Regions from separate parts of the Homo sapiens genome. Here region 1 is linked to region 2. The links are contacts of gene promoters, found by promoter capture Hi-C in human tissues and cell types (Jung and others, 2019). All regions are on one chromosome and are shown on one strand. Each heading gives the region's core, a stretch centred on a gene start or on the middle of the fragment in contact. The rest is flanking DNA. Distances are from core to core; before and after follow the strand shown. Region 1 overlaps CYP4F8 (cytochrome P450 family 4 subfamily F member 8). Region 2 holds the start of OR1I1 (olfactory receptor family 1 subfamily I member 1).

What was found. The method cuts DNA at HindIII sites, captures the fragments that hold promoters and counts their contacts. A contact is called where the count stands out against the background at its distance.
Region 1: a fragment that was not itself captured here is called in contact with the fragment with the promoter of OR1I1 in region 2 in 2 of the 25 tissues and cell types used here (aorta and bladder).

The regions. Positions count from the first base shown.
Region 1 is chr19:15,628,147-15,633,234 of GRCh38, forward strand. CYP4F8 (cytochrome P450 family 4 subfamily F member 8) reads left to right here. Exons shown (of 13, transcript NM_007253.4): 10 at 156-289; 11 at 385-449; 12 at 615-697; 13 at 1,047-2,493. The coding sequence ends at 1,212. Among named protein-coding and RNA genes, the nearest start is that of CYP4F3, 10 kb to the right of the region's middle. RefSeq lists a silencer at 1,420-1,469. The HindIII fragment of the contact is 7,008 bases long and covers 1-5,088 here.
Region 2 is chr19:15,079,526-15,085,205 of GRCh38, forward strand. OR1I1 (olfactory receptor family 1 subfamily I member 1) reads left to right here and starts at 2,686. Exons shown (of 2, transcript NM_001004713.2): 1 at 2,686-2,751. The HindIII fragment of the contact is 16,029 bases long and covers 695-5,680 here.

The DNA.
Region 1 (5,088 bases), core at 1,065-3,564, 550 kb after region 2:
TTTTGTGACTTTGGTTTTCTAATGCTTACATCTTTGTTGCTTCTGGAATTAATTTTGTTATAGGACTGAGGGTCAGAGGGAGGTGGTGAGAGGGTCTCCAGGGGCAGCAGGAGGGCCGTGTATGCTCTCTGGATAATTGTTGGGTGTTTCCTTAGGGACGACCTGGCCCAGTTGCCCTTCCTGACCATGTGCCTGAAGGAGAGCCTGCGGTTGCATCCCCCAATCCCTACATTCGCCCGCGGCTGCACCCAGGACGTGGTGCTCCCAGACAGCCGAGTCATCCCCAAAGGTGCCCTCCATGGCAGGGGAGGAGGGTCCTGGGCAGGGCGGTGGTCCCAGCAGGCAGCTCGGACCTTGTTCTTACTGTCCTCTCCTGCACGACAGGGAATGTCTGTAACATCAACATCTTCGCAATCCATCACAACCCCTCAGTCTGGCCAGACCCTGAGGTGCTGCCCCTCCCTGTTTCTCCATCCCCCGGGCCTGGTCGGGGGAGGGGTCTTGTCCCGGAAAACCAGATACTCCCTCTCTACTCCACCCACATCTGTTTTATGTGGGGGTGGCTGGGTGTCCTGAGAGGCCCCATCAGCAGCCTTAACTTGCCTCCACCCCAGGTCTATGACCCCTTCCGCTTCGACCCAGAAAACGCCCAGAAGAGGTCACCTATGGCTTTTATTCCTTTCTCGGCGGGGCCCAGGTGAGGCCAGGGGGTGTCTGAGGTGGGCATGGGCTGAGGGTGGCACAGATGGCTGCCTTGTCAGATGCCTGACTTGTAGGACCACGTGTTTCTGTGATAGGGGTTTTAAAGAAGATCCTAGGAAAAAGGGTGTGCTCAGAGCCTCCTGCCCCGTCTGGTTTCAGTTGGGGCTGGGGTCTGGGCTAGGCTCTGGGAATATGCAAGCCCACATGGGGGTCCCAGACCCAGCTTCCCCCCTGTCTGCCCAAGGTGATCTGGGTGGGGTTGGGGGTTCCGGGCCTGGTTCCTGGCGCAGTGGGGCCGGGATCTGGGTCCTGGGTGCAGTCAGACCTTCCACCTTGGCCCCCAGGAACTGCATCGGGCAGAAGTTCGCGATGGCAGAGATGAAGGTGGTCCTGGCGCTCACGCTGCTGCGCTTCCGCATCCTGCCCGACCACAGGGAGCCACGCAGGACGCCGGAGATTGTTTTGCGTGCGGAGGACGGACTTTGGCTGCGAGTAGAACCCCTGGGCTGAGGCCTGCAGTGACCCACCCACCTACCTTTGCATCACCTACCTTTGCACCAACTACCTTTTCAGATTTCCGGTAATAAATCTGTGTTGGCCCCTGTGCCTCAGTCCCGCGGATGGCCAGTAGGGGGCGCTGGAGGACTGCGGGGATCTAGGGCCTGGCTGGGAAGAGGCGGGGAGATGTCTCTGTGCCCAAGATACTCACTGCCTCTCTGGGTGAGCACAGGAGCCCCGTGCTGAGGGTGGGATCTCCCAGAGTCTAAGTAAAGACTTTTTCCCCCCCAAAATAATTGTGTATTCTGATATAAATTTTTGCCAATTTAGAATCCCTGTTTTTTAGCTAGGTGCATAGCAGCCTGAAATACAGATCACATTTGAAAGCCTTTCTTGAAGCTCAATTGGTTAAGTGACTGTGGCTGTCCCATGTGTAGAAGCCAAAGATTATGTGGTAATTCTGGTAACCTTTCTTAAGAGAAAGCTGCTACAGTCTGTCTGCTCAGTCCTCCCCTCTTCCTTCCTGCTGCTTGGAAGATTTTTTTTTTTTTTTGAGACATGGTGTCTCTCGTCGCCCAGGCCGGAGTGCAGTGGCTCACTGCAACCTCCACCTCCTGGGTTCAAGTGATTCTCCTGACTCAGTCGCCTGAGTAGATAGGATAACAGGCGCCTACCACCACACCCGGCTAATTGTATTTTTAGTACAGATGGGGTTTTGCTATGTTGGCCAGGCTGGTCTCAAACTCCTGGCCTCAAGTGATCAGCCCACCTCAGCCTCCCAAAGTGCCAGAATTGCAGGTGTGAGAATAAAAATTCTTGAGTTTCAATGTTTATTTTAGAATCAGGTGCTAACATGCAAATTTATTACAAAGGTATATTGCATCATGCTGAGGTTTGGAGTATGAATGACTCCATCACCCATGTAGTGAGCATAGTATCTAATAGGCAGTTTTTCAGCTTTTCCCCCTCCCTGCTTCCCCTGTCTAGTAGTCCCCAGGATCTGTTGTTCCCATCTTTATTACCATGTGTATCCAATGCATACCTCCCACTTATAAGTGAGAACATGCAATATTTTGTTTTCTGTTCCTGCATTAGTTTGCTTAGGATAATGGCCCCCAGCTGCATCTATGTTGCTGCAAACGACATGATTTTGTACTTTTTAATGACTGCATAGTATTTCATGGTGTATTTCTACACATTTTCTTTATCCACTCCACCATTGATGGGCACCTGTGTTGATTCAGCATCTTCGCTATTGTGATTAGAGCTGCGATAAACATGTGGATGCTTGTGTCTTTTTGGCAGAATGATTTATTTTCTTTTGGGTGTATACCCAGTCGTGGGATTGCTAGGTCAAATGGTAGTTCAACTCTCAATTCTCTGAGAAATATCCTAACTGCTCTCCACACTCCATTAGTTTAGTGGCTGAACTAATTTATATTTCCACCAACAGTGTATAAATGTTCCTTTTTCTCCATAGCCTTGGCAACATCTGCTATTTTTTGACTTTTTAACAAATTGCTTGCAAGATTGATGTGGCCTCTGGAGCTCCATCTTGGCTCATGAGGACAGGGACTGCTATTTAGGGCAGATGGGGCAGATGGCTAGAAGCAGTCAGGGTCTATGACCCTAGATCCATGCTGTGACCTGAATGTTTATGTAGCCCCCAAATCCATACATTGAAGCCTAGTCTGCATATGGTGGTATTAAGAGGGGAGGCCTTTGGGAGGTGATTAAGTTGTGAGGGCTCTGCCTTCGTAAGTGAGATTACCCCTTATAACAGAGACCTGAGGGAGCTTGTTTGCCCCTTCCACCATGTAAAGACACGTGCAAGGTGCCATCTATGAGGAACAGGCCCTTAGTTGACACTGAACCTGCAGGCACCTTGATCTTGGACTTCCCAGCCTCCAAAATTGTAAGCAATAAATACCTGTTGTTTATAAACTACCTAGTGTAAGTTATGTTGTCATAGCAGCCTGAATGGGCTAAGATAATCCATATCCCCTTGGAATTGTACTAAACATCACCTTGAAGTTGTATTATAAATGTCAGAATCCCAGTCTGCTATTCACTAGCTGATTGGCTTGGGGAAAACTTGTTTATCTCTGTAGCCCTGGTTTTGTTTACCACTTAATAGTATTCACCTCATTGGGCTGCTGGAAGACTGAACAAGCCAGTATCTACAACATCCCTGAGCCACATCTGTTGGGTATTAGCGGTCCATGAGGGTTAATTGCCTCTCTTTCTCTTCTTTTTGCATCACATTTGAAGTTTTGACATTTTAAAAAATCGCAAGAGGTTGCTTCAAGCTTTGGGATGCATGGCAACCTTCTCTTGAGGAAAATTCATTCGAATGTTTTGTGTGCTCAAAATATCCGTTATTACATCCGAGAATCTACAGTGGACTTTGGTGAAAGGTTGGCCCAAAGCTTAGAACGGAAAAAATTAATTTTTCCAGAGAGGCACGACTCAGAATTTATTCCTGTCTAAAAAGTTCAGGTCATGAAGGTTTTCAAGTGAGAGGAAGGTAGAGGGTGTGGGCTGGGCGGGGGGCGGGCGGGGGGGGGGAGGGGCCGCCCCTTTCAGCACCAGGGACAGCGGCTGCACCTGGACTTTCCCCTGTCTGACTGTAGGGGGCTCCTGCGGGGCGCAGAGTCCAAGGACTGAGCGCTTTTCAGGGGCCCATAGATTGGGAACCTGGAAGGATTATTGGCTGCAAAATAAGAATGGAACATTGCAAAACGAAATAAATAACTATTTAATATATTCTATGCTGAAAGTCAATTTTTCTTCCCTTTAAAGTTTAAGTTTCATAAATAATGCATGCTTATAGAAGAAATTGCAAGAAATAAAAATCATCCATAATTTCAAAATGTCAGAATAATCACTGTTTATATTTTCTTGCATATGCTTCCAGTTTTTAATTCATATGTGATCTTTTTACATATGAAAATGTTTATTTACATCTATATAGCTGTGTCATATCACATTTGCATGTAATTTTGTTTACAAGTGCTATTTTCCTGCCAAATGAGCACATGAAAAGATGCTAAACATTATTCCCATTATGCAAACCAAAAGCACAACGTGATGTCACCTCAACACCTACAGGATGGCTAGCATCTAAAAAAGGGAATATAACAAATGTTGGAGAGGATATGGAGTAATCGAAGCCCTCATCCATTCCTGGTGTGACTGTAAAAATGGTGCAGCTGCTGTGGAAAACAGTCTGGAGATTCTGAAAAACTAAAACATAGAATTACTATATGATGCAATTCCACGATATCATATTAAGCTCCTAGCTATATACTCAAAAGAATAGAAAACAGTTGTTCAAACAAAAAAGCTTGTACATTCGTGCTTATAGCAGCCCTATTCACAATTGCCAAAAGGTAGAAAGAACTCAAATATCCATTAACAGATGGATGGATAAAGAAAATGTGATCTATTCGTATAATGAAATATTACTCAGCCATTAAAAGGAATGAAGTACTGATACATACTACCACCTGGATGAACCTTGAATACATTATAGTATGTGAAAGAAGTCAGACACAAAAGGTCACATAGTGTATGATTTATTTATAAGAAATGTCCATCTGGGTGTGGTGGCTCATGCCTGTAATCCCAGCACTTTGGGAGGCCCAGGCAGGCAGATCACTTGAGGTCAGGAGTTCAAGAGCAGCCTGGCCAACAGGGTGAAACCCCGTCGCTACTAAAAATACAAGAAAAATTAGCTGGGCGTCATGGGATATGCCTGTAATCCAAGTTACTTGGGAGGCTGAGGCAGGAGAATCACTTGAACCCAGGAAGTGGAGGTTGTGGTGAGCTGAGATCATGCCATCACGCCACTGCACTCCAGTCTGGGCAACAGAGTGAGACTCTGTC
Region 2 (5,680 bases), core at 1,436-3,935:
GCACGTTCAGCACATGTATCCCAGAACTTAAATTAAAATAATAAATAACTAAGTACATATAAAAATTTAAAAGACTGTCCGTTCTACTTGACCACTGCCACATCAGGAGCCCTTGACCCTTGCCAGAATTCAGGAATCCCCATCTCTCCTAGATTCTAATCAAGGAAGAAAATCAGGGACTATATAAAAACCTTTTAGGTGTTGGATTTTAAAAAAAGCATTTGTGCTTGGAAGAATGGGTGGAGAGTGGCTGAAGCCCAAGATGCTGAGAGAAGAAATCTGGACCTCACTCCTAGAGAGGATAGAATGAAGTAGACCACCCCCTTCTTCCTCCCTCCCAATGTTCATTGATGGTTTCCTGGTACCAGACTCATTGCCACATAAAGACTCTAAGATTTTCCCAAAGCAATCAGCACTGGACTCCAAACCAACATGACTAGAAAACTGGACTCTGGGAGTGTATAACTGGCCCTGCCTTATACCAATTTCCCAGGGGGGGAAATGTTATTTTTGATAACATTTTCTATAGAGTCATATCAAAAAGAAAGGCTTTTTTCTTCCTGAATATATCTTTTATTCCTCCTTATCTCTCTTCACTCTTCCTTCTATAACTGGTTTCAGAATTCCCAGGAGAGTTCGGATGGGAGACACCAATGTCCTACCTACCATGGCTTTGGGCAAAATAATTTTTTTTCAGAACCACGGACAGTGGCAAAAGTTTGTTCACCCAGTGGGACTTTTTTTTTTTTTTTTTTTTGAGATGGAGTCTTGCTCTGTCACCCAGGCTGGAGTGCAGTGGCACAATCTCGGCTCACTGCAATCTTCGCCTCCCAGGTTCAAGTGATTCTCCTGCCTCAGCCTCCCAAGTAGCTAGGATTACAGATGCCCACCCACCATGCCCAGCTAATTTTTGTACTTTTAGTAGAGACTGGGTTTCACCATTTTTCCCAGGCTGGTCTCGAACTCCCGACCTCAAGTGATCCACCCGCCTCAGCCTCCCAAAGTGCTGGGATTACAGGTGTGAGCCACCATGTCTGGCCACCTTATGGACTTTTTAGGTGGGTTTTTCCCCAACCTTTGGGCTCAAATTGATTTTTTTTTTTTTTTTGAGACAAGGTCTCACTCTGTCACCCAGGCTGGAGTGCAGTGGCATGATCTCAACTTGCTGCAAACTTCACCTCCCGGGCTCAAGGGATCCTCCCACCTCAGCCTCCTGAGTAGTTGGGACTATAGGCACGTCCAGCTAATTTTGTATTTTTAGTAGAGACAGGGTTTCACCATGTTGGCCGGGCTGGTCTCAAACTCCTGAGCTAAATTGATCCACCTGCCTCGGCCTCCCAAAGTGCTAGGATTACAGGTGTGAACCACCATGCCCAGCCTCTGAAAATAATTTTAATTTTAAAAAAATAATGACAGTGGGATTGGCACCTACTCATATCCCCATATGTCCAACGCGAAGTTGGTCTACCTTGTTCTTGCTTTGAAGCTGACCTCCCCACAGAGTTACGATCCAAGAGCCAACAGTCCAACAGCCAATATTATTAGGGAAAGTAATTCTAATATTTACTAAAGCCCCTAGGAGAATTTCAACAAGTATCCTACACACGTTCTGTGTGGCTGATAGGAAGGATTTTTTTTTTAAGAGACAGGGTCTCACTCCGTTGTCCAGGTTGGAATGCAGTGGTGCGATCACAGCTCACTGCAGCCTCAACCTCCAGGGCTCAAGTGATCCTCCCACCTCAGCCTCCTGGGTAACTGAGACCACGGGCATGTGCCACCAATCCTGGCTAATTTTTTTAAATTTTTTGTAGATATAAGGTCTTGCTGTTTTGCCCAAGCTGGTCTCAAACTTCTAGGCTCAAGGGATTCTCCAACCTTGGCCTCCCAAGTAGCTAGGATTATAGGCATGAGCCACCGTGTCCAACTCCAGTGCCAAGCAGGTGATCAAGAAGTGTTTGATAGGCCGGGTACAGTGGCTCAGGCCTGTAATCCCAGCACTTTGGGAGACCGAGGAGAGCAGATCACTTGAGGTTTGAGATCAGTCTTTCCAACATGGTGAAACCCTGTCTCTACTAAAAATACAAAGACTAGCTGGGCATGGTGGTGGGCACCAGTAATTCCAGCTACTCAAGAGGCTGAGGAGGGAGAATTGCTAGAACCCAGGAGGTGGAGGTTGCAGTGAGCCGAGATTGCTCCACTGTGCTCCAGGCTGGGTGAAAGAGTGACACTCCATCTCAAAAAAAAGTGTTTGATAAATTTATTTATTTAATACCGATTTATTGATTGATTGATACTCTTCGGAGCTTTCCTTAATGAGCCAGTTTCTTCCATAATGCAATGAATGAAAGGACCTCTCAGATTCAGGCATCTGAGTGCCCGACTGGAGTCTGGGACCCCCCAGACCTCTCTGCCTGGGAGCTTCCATGAAGCTCAGCCTGAGCTGGAAGGAGACCGTAGGGAGATGTCCTAGTGAGAGTGAATCCCTAGTCACTGTTTCCTCTTCTTACCCACTCGATGATCCCAAAGCACACCCATCTCCAAAAGAACAGGTCACATGTGGCAGAGGAGAAACAAAATAATTAGCATCCGCTTCCTTAACAAGGAGCTATGGGGACGAAGTCTCCTAGAGTCCCCAGACTATAAATACCCTGATGTTCCCCTGGCTCCCCCACTCACCTGCAGAGTCTGGGGGCGGGGGGGTACACATATGAATCCTTCCCATAGACATCAGGCTAACCCCAGCGATCACAGGTGAGTAGCCCCCATGCCCTTCCTAGGGGTTTAGTGCTGACCTCGGGATCCTCTAGCAGTTGGTGGAGAAGGAGGCTTCCCGGGACCCTCCCCTTGGTGATGCCATCCTGGTGAGCAGGTGAGGGATGGGGAAAGGATTGAGCTGAGGGTGGGGGTGGAGGGTTGTGGGAGAGGAATCTGTCTCCTTCCTAGAGGCCGAGAGAGAGAGAAGAGACTGAGACCAAGTCTAGACTCTCTGAGTGGACAAAGCACGCAGACGGCAGACCCTCTGTGGCAGGATATGTGGAGGAAAAGCACTGAGGGTCTGCAGCTGCAGGACACCTGCACAGATAGGAGAGGTCTTGAGAAACAAGTTTCTCCAATGCAGCAGCTCCCCAAGTGTGGTCCCTGGGCTAGAAGCACCAGCATCCTCTGGAAACTATCTAGAAGTGCTGGTTCTTACACCAGACATTTCAGGGAAAGGGCTTAGCTTTTTGTGTATGATGAGTTTGGGAGCGGGGGGGAGGGGGCGGGGGGATTGTTTTGTTTGTTTGTTTGTTCTTTCTGTTTTTGAGACAGGGTCTCGCTCTGTTGCCCAGTCTGGAGTGCAGTGGCATTATCATAGCTCATCGCAGCCTCGACCTCCCAAGCTCAAGTGATCCTCCCTCCTCAGCCTCCCGGGTACCTGGGATAACAGACATATACCACCATGCCTGGCTAATTTTATTTTCGTAGAGGCAGGGATCTTCCTATGTTGCCCAGGATGGTCTCACACTCCCGGGCTCAAGAGATCCTCCTACCTTGGCCCCCCAAGCAGCTGGGACTAACAGGTGTGTGCCACCATGTCCAGCTAATTTTTTATTTTGTAGAGATGGGGGTCTCACTGTGTTGCCCAGGTTGGTCTCTAACTCCTGGACTCAAGGGATTCTCCCACCTCAGCCTTCTGAGTAGCTGGGACTATGGAAGCATGCCACCATGCCCAGCAGATTGTTTTATTTTTTGTAGATCCAGGGCGGGATTGGGGGTGGGGTGGCCTCACTTTGTCTGCCAGGCTGGTCTTGAACTCCTGGCCTCAAGCAATTCTCCCACTTCAGCCTCCCAAAGTGCTGGGATTACAGGTGTGAGCCACCATGCCTGGCCCGCTTTTTGTGTTTTAACAAGCCTTCCAGGTGACCCTGAAGCGTGCTCAAGGTTGAGAACCGCTGCTCTATGCAACCCAAGTCAACAACTGAGGACTGTTACAAATATGTTGCCAGGAAGGGAATCGCAGTATTCTATCCAGCCTAGAGAAAACCAAGCATTGCATTGCAAAAACCTCAAGTCCAACACTAAAAAGCCTCAAAAAGTTAACATAGGGCTTTGCTGAAGGCCTCTTGGGGTTACCAAGGAGATTATGCTGCTAACCTTCCTAAAAACCCCTTTCATCGGCTGGGCGCTGAAATGATGAGATTACTGGGCTCACGCCTGTAATCTCAGTACTTTGGGAGGCCAAGGTGGGCGGATCACCGGGTCAGGAGTTCAAGACCAGCCTGGCCAACAGGCTTAGTAGAGGCGAAACCCCGTCTCTACTAAAAATACAAAAATTAATCGGGCGTGGTGATGCACACCTGTAATCCCAGCTATTCGGGTGGCTGAGGCACAAGAATCACTTGAACCCAGGAGACGGATGTTGCAGTGAGCCGAGATCGTGCCACTGTACTCTAGCCTAGGTGACAGAGTGAGACTCTGTCTCGAAAAGAAACACGTGTAAATGCTTGTAATTGAATATTTTTCCCTTGCACGTGTTGACAGCACAGAATTTAGCTTCGAAATGCCTCATAAAGAGGTGAGAGTGGCCATTCTTAGGGAGGCAGTGGAGTATGAGAGTGAAAATAAGTCTAAATTCAAAGGCGAGATCAGGCACTTGCAAGCTGAGTGCCCCTGGCAGCTCGCTCAGCCCCAGTCTGCTCACTGTAAATTGTAGCTAACACAATCTCCCTGTGGGAGTTATTGTAAGACCTATGCATTAAGAAACTGGCTCCTGGCTGGCTGCAGTGGCTCACGCCTGTAATCCCAGCACTTTGAGAGATCAAGCCGGGCAGATGATGAGGTCAGGAGTTCAAGACCAGTCTGACAAACATGGTGAAACCCCATCTCTACTAAAAATACAAAAATTAGCCATGCGTGGTGGTGCTCGCCTGTCATCCCAGCTACTCAGGAGGCTGAGGCAGGAGAATCTTTTGAACCCAGGAGGCGGGGGTTGCAGTGAGCCAAGATCGCGCCACTGCACTCCAGCTTGGGTGACAGAGTAAGACTCCATCTCAAAAAAGAAAAGAAAGAAAGAAACCGGCTCCTCATCAGGATAAATAGCTAATGCATGCTGGGCTTAATACCGAGGTGATGGCTTGATAGGTGCAGCAAACCACTATGGCACACGTTTACCTATGTAACAAACCTGCACGTCCTGCACGTGTATCCTGGAACTTAAAATAAAATGATAAAATTAAATAAAATAAAAATCATGCTGAGCAGCCAATAGCTGGGGGAAAAAAAAAGAAAGAAACTGGCTCCTAAGAAGGTTTAACCCATTACAGATATCATTATTGCTGAGGGCAAAATAAAAACACCTGTCCCAGCTACTAGGAAGGCTGAGGTGGGAGGAACACCTGAGCTCAGGAGGTACAGGCTGCAGTGAGCTGTGATTGTGCCACCGCACTGCAGCCTGGGTGACAGAGTGAGACCCTGTCTCAAAATAAATTAAATTAAATTAAATAGATCTTGTATTAGATAATTTTGCCTAACTGTAGGCTAACGTAAGTGTTCTGAGCACATTGAAGGTGGGCTAGGCTAAGCTGTGATGTTTGGTAGGTTAGGTATGTTCAATGCATTTTTGACTTATATATATATATATATATATATATATATATATATATATATATATATTTTTTTTTTTGAGACAGAGTTTCGCTCT